Regions from separate parts of the Homo sapiens genome. Here region 1 is linked to region 2. Evidence: promoter capture Hi-C in 16 types of primary human blood cells and fetal thymus (Javierre and others, 2016). All regions are on one chromosome and are shown on one strand. Each heading gives the region's core, a stretch centred on a gene start or on the middle of the fragment in contact. The rest is flanking DNA. Distances are from core to core; before and after follow the strand shown.

The links. Contacts are between HindIII fragments. The CHiCAGO score rates a contact against its expected background, and 5 or more counts as called.
Region 1: a contact is called between a fragment that was not itself captured here and the fragment with the promoter of ICAM2 in region 2, in 8 of 17 cell types (naive B cells, total B cells, naive CD4 T cells and 5 more). The highest score is 11.8, in naive B cells.

Annotation. Positions count from the first base shown.
Region 1 is chr17:63,950,215-63,952,914 of GRCh38, forward strand. SCN4A (sodium voltage-gated channel alpha subunit 4) reads right to left here. Exons shown (of 24, transcript NM_000334.4): 14 at 1,210-1,686. Among named protein-coding and RNA genes, the nearest start is that of CD79B, 19 kb to the left of the region's middle. RefSeq lists an insulator at 1-1,638, an enhancer at 748-807 and a silencer at 775-1,069. The HindIII fragment of the contact is 2,018 bases long and covers 386-2,403 here.
Region 2 is chr17:64,019,363-64,022,129 of GRCh38, forward strand. ICAM2 (intercellular adhesion molecule 2) reads right to left here and starts at 1,271. Exons shown (of 5, transcript NM_001099789.2): 1 at 1,161-1,271. RefSeq lists enhancers at 891-1,010, 1,105-1,605, 1,351-1,440, 1,661-1,710. The HindIII fragment of the contact is 3,360 bases long and covers 589-2,767 here.

The sequences.
Region 1 (2,700 bases), core at 145-2,644, 69 kb before region 2:
AGAAGAGGGCAACTTGGGGGGCAGCTCTGTATCCAGAGTGGTGACCAGAAAACCACCATGGCCGGGGTGGGGGTCCTTGTTTTCATTAGACTAAAAGGGAAACTGAGGCACAGAGTGTTAGGTCAGCCAGGGCATCCACTGAGTTGCTTGCCCCGATTGTGCACTCAACTCCCTAAATCTCCCTTGGAGTTGTGCTCGCCCTCCTTGAACAAGTCCCCAGGCCCCGGCCCCGGCCCCGGGGAGCCTGGGACTTTGGTGCTCTCCAGCTCCCCCGCCACCTGAGTGCCTCATACCGAGGTCTGTGCCACAGTTGCCTGGGTATTTATAGCTCACAGGCACTCGCTTCCTGGTAAGCCAGCATATTTGGGGGGAATAAGGAGTCAAAAGCTTTCAGGGCAAAGTTCATTAGGCTCAGGCTGATGGTGCAGGGGTGGGCAGGGGCCCTCGTCCTAGCTCCTGTATGAGTCCTTTCCCTGCCAGAGCTGGACAGTGGGGAAGGGGGCTCAAGACCCAGGCAGGGTCAGCCTCAGCCTCAGCCTCAGCTGCTGGGGGTTACCACCGCTGCGTTCCTGTCCCTTCCTCGACCTCGCAGTGGAGGGGTGGGGAGGGGCATCTGAGCCCAGCAGCACACCCCCTGCATGGCTGAGGGGTCAGGGCTCCTGCCTGAGGCTTCTGTCCTCCTTGTCCTCAACTCCCGTTGGCCCCTAGCTCCTCTCCTGAATCCCCTGCCTGGATCTGGCACTTTGGCCCACACTGGGAGGTTGGGAGCAGACCCAGGTGGGGTCTAAACAGAGATAGAGGATAAGTGTGAGGACTGGGCAAGGGGCCTCAAACCCAGAGGAGAATATGTAAGAGAGGCCTCTCAGGTCCTGGTCCTGGAGCTGCGGTGCCCAGGTAAAAGCAGCATGTCCAAGGGCACCACCTGCTGGTGAGAGGGGCCCAGGTGTTCTGGTCCGAGGGAATCAGGGTTTCTGGACAGACAGGGTTGATCATAATAACCACATCAATAACGATAGTGACTGCCACCACTCACAGGGCGCGGACTGCATGCTTTACATACAGCGTCTCACATAATGCTTGCAACAATGCCATAGGGCACCACCCCCATTTTACAGCTGGAGAAACTGAGGCTCAGAGAGGACTTAGGGCTTGCTCCAGGTCACAGGAGAATTTGAAGCCGGGTCTGTCTGAGCCCCAGCCCCGGCTCACCTTGCTATCCTCAGGCTCTGAGAAAGTGTCGGTTTCCTCCTCGGTGGGCATCTCCAGGTCGGACTCCTCGGAGGCGATGGGCACCTGTATGGTCAGGTAGGGGTTGTTGATGAAGTTAAGGTGGTCCAGCTCGAGGCTGGATGGGGGGCCGTCAGCCAGGCCCATGTGGTTCAGGATGTGATTGTCCTTCTTCAGGTCCTCCTCGGGCGGCTCCTTCTTCTCATCCTCGGGGGCAGTCTCCCCCGCCTCTCCAGCCTCCCCGGCCCCGTCAGCCTCCCCGAGGCTGAGCATGATGTCCTTGGGGCTCAGGATCTTGCCATGCAGCAGCCCCAGGAGGAAGGCCTTGGCAAAGCCGATGCCCAACTTGATGCGCCCGATGGCAATCTGCAGGTTGTTCATCTCGCCATCCTCATCCGAGGCTGCCAGACTGTCGGCGCTGAAGGAGCTCAGCAGCAGAGCCAGGAACAGGTTCAGGACCTGGGGCATGGGGTCAGGGGGAGCCTCACATCAGTCCCCGGGACCCAGAGGGTGCCACCTTCAGCCAGCACAGGGGTCCTCGGTCTACAGATCCAAACTACCACATGTTGGGCATTTAAAAGAACGCCACCTAAGAGGTGTTCACAACTGCTCATGGAGGTGATGGTTATTATCCCTTCTGCAGATGGGGAAACTGAGGCTTGGGCTTCTGAGAGGACTCTGCTACCCAGGGCAGAGGCAGGGTTTAGGGAGGCCTGCTGGGGGACAGGAACTCTCTCCATGACTGTCCTTTTTTTTCTTTTTTTTTTTTCGAGATGGAGGAGTCTCCCTCTGTTGCCTCCAGACTCCGGGCTGGAGTGCTGTGGCGCGATTTCGGCTCACGGCAACCTCCACCTCCCAAGTTCAAGTGCCACCATGCCCAGCTAATCTTTGTATTTTTTGTAGAGACGGGGTTTCAACATGTTGCCCAGGCTGGTCTCAAACTCCTGACCTCAAGTGATCCGCCTGCCTCGGCCTCCCAAAGTGCTGGGATTAGAGGCATCACCACGGTGCCTGGCCCATGACTGTCCTTTACCTCCACTTCTGGAGGATGCGGAACAAAGAACTGGGCTCAAGTCGCCGAGCTTCCAGGACTTACTGGGAACCTTTATCTTTTGTGCCTTCTTCTCCACCTCTGTTAAGTGGGACTTTATAGACCCCGCACTCCTGGAGTGCAGAAGCTTGGCCCCTGCTACTCTGGAAGGGACATCTGACCTACTATTTACCCTCTTTTCTCCTCTTGGGGTTTCCGACTCCATCTATTCTGGTTCTTGTCCCACATCCCTACGGAAAGACTTAGGAGGCTACTGCTGCTCCCCCCCAGCACCCCCACCCACTTTATTTTCCAGTGGATAGACATTTCCTGAGCCCCCGTCACTGCATGAATGGCCTCAGGGAGCTCACAGACCAGCAGAGACAGAGAGCAGATCAATCACATGCAATACTGTGGGTTTGGGTGGCAGCAGAGACTGGAGT
Region 2 (2,767 bases), core at 21-2,520:
TCCAGCCTGGGAAATATAGTGTGACCCCATCTCAGTAAATAAATAAATAAATAAATAAATAGAGATGCATATGTAATAAAGCACTTAAAAATAAGAGAACAATAAACACAAAATTCCAGAGGGTGGCTACCTGTGGGTGGGAGGCAAGTAGCATAAAAGTGGACAAGTGGTGGCCAGGTGTGGTGGCTCACGCCTGTAATCCCAGCATTTTGGGAGGCCGAGGTGGGCGGATCATGAGGTCAAGAGATCGAGACTCTCCTGGCCAACATAGTGAAACCCTGTCGCTACCAAAAACACAAAAATTAGCTGGGCATGGTGGCATGCGCACCTGTAGTCCCAGCTACTTGGGAGGCTGAGACAAGAGAATCGCTTGAACCCAGCAGGCGAAGGTTGTGGTGAGCCAAGATTGTGCCACTGCACTCCAGCCTGGGCGACAAGAATGAAAACTCTGTCTCAAAAAAAAAAAAAAAAAAAAAAAGCAGATAAGTGGTGTTTGCAGTTTGGTGATACTCCATCCTTGTGCTGAGTGGCAGCTTCAGGTGTGTTTGGTATATTACTGTGCAGTATGATGTATATGTATGTTACATAAGCTTTTTATGCGTTACCTAGTAAATTTTACAAAAATAATAAAAGGGAAAAAGGGCCTTTCTACGTGCCTAGAAAGAAGAGGCTTCATGGGAATGTGAGCCATGGGTTAGGAAAGACCCCCTCGAACCGAGGCAGGTAGGAAGTGAGTGACTGAGATTCATTATGAACCCACCACGCCTGCCGGGGAGAACAGGGACTGTCCCTTCCCCTCTGCATCAGCTCAGATGGTCCAGATCACAGCCCACGTGGGCCCCTAAATAAGGAGGCAGCCCCACATTTCTACATCGGCCACCGAGATGGCAGAGCAGAGGAAGGAGAGAGGGGAGACAAATCAGGAAAGGAGCGCCAGGGCAAGTGCGTGAGCTCAGAGACCCAGCAGGGCAGGGCAGGAGCTTCACAGAGTGCAGAATGTCGAGCCACAGGAGCGCTGGGGATTCCCCAACCCCTGCACTTACCAGCGAGAAACTGAGACCCAGAGAGGGGAACGGACTAAAACTCAGACCTCGACACTGCCAAAATCCTTCCCATGCTGCCACGCTTCATTGGAGGGAAAGTGAGAAGCTCAACCTTACCCCTGTGGGCTCCAAGAAGGGTAGCTCTGGGATCCCGGGCAGGAAATTGGTGACAAGGTGACAAGGTGCGCGTGTCACAGCTGCCCAGTTCACGGCTTATTCAGTCTTCTCCCTCCCCCCACTCCCCACCAGAAGTGACGTGCTTCCTGTGCCCCGGTTCCCACCCTAAACTAGCCTCATTTAGCTCCACTCCCATTCCGCTTTTTTTTTTTTTAATTGTGGTAAAACGTACACAACAGAATTTACCATTTCAATTTTTTTTTTTTTTTTAGACTGAGTCTCAGTCACCCAGGCTGGAGTGCAGTGGTGTGATCTCGGCTCACTGCAACCTCTGCCTCCCGAGTTCACGTGATTCTTGTGCCTCAGCCCGCAGAGTAACCGGGACCACAGGCACCTGCCACCACGCCTGGCTAATTTTTGTATTTTTAGTAGAGACAGGGTTTCACCATGTTGGCCAGGCTGGTCTCGAACTCCTGACCTCAAGTGAACTGCCTTCCTCGGCCTCCTAAAGTGCTAGGATTACAGGCAAGAGCCACTGCGTCCAGCCAATTTTTTGTTGTGTTGTTTTTAAGACAGAGTCTTGCTTTTGTCACCTAGGCTGGAGTGCAGTGGCACAATCACAGTTCGTGGCAACCTCTGACCCCTGAGCTCAAGTGACCCTCCCTCCTCAACTTCCCAAGTGACTGGGACTACAAGTGTGCAGCCACCAGGCTTGGCTAATTTCTGTAGTTTTTGTAGAGACAGAGTGTTGCTTATGTTGCCCAGCCTGGTCTCAAACTCTTGAGCTCAAGCAATCCTCCCACCTCAGCCTCCCAAATGCTGGGAATGAGCCACCGTGCTAGGCCCATTTTAATTATGTTTAAGTGTACAGTTTGGGGCACTAAGTACATTCACATTGTTCTGCAACCATCACCACCATCCATCTCTGGAGCTCTCTCTTTCTCTTTTCTTTCTTTTTTTTTTTTTGAGATGGAGTTTCGCTCTGTTGCCCAGGCTGGAGTGCAGTGGTGTGATCTTGGCTCACTGTAACCTCTGCCTCCCAGGTTCAAACGATTCTCTTGCCTCAGTGTTTTTGTTGTTGTTGTTGTTGTTTGTTTGTTTGTTTGTTTTGTAGAGATGGAGCCTCACTCTGTCGCCCAGGCTGGAGTGCTGGAGTGCAGTGGTGTGATCTCGGCTCACTGCAACCTCCGCCTCCCGAGTTCAAGCAATTCTCCTGCCTCAGCCTCCTGAGTAGCTGGGACTACAGGTGCACGCCACCACGCCTGGTTAATTTCTTTTGTATTTTAGCAGAGATGGGGTTTCACCATGTTGCCTAGGCTGGTCTCAAACTCTTGAGCTCAGGCAATCCGCCCGCCTTGGCCTCCCAAAGTGTTGGGATTACAGGCATGAGCCACCGTGCCTGGCCTTGCCTCAGCCTCTTGAGTAGCTGGGATTACAGGCACGTGCCGACTGGCTAATTTTTGTATTTTTAGTAGAGATGGGGTTTCATCATGTCGGCCAGGCTGGTCTCGAACTCCTGACCTCAAATGATCCGCCCACCTCAGCCTCCCAAAGTGCTGGTATTACAGGCATGAACCACCACGCTTGGCCAGAACTGCCTTCCTTTT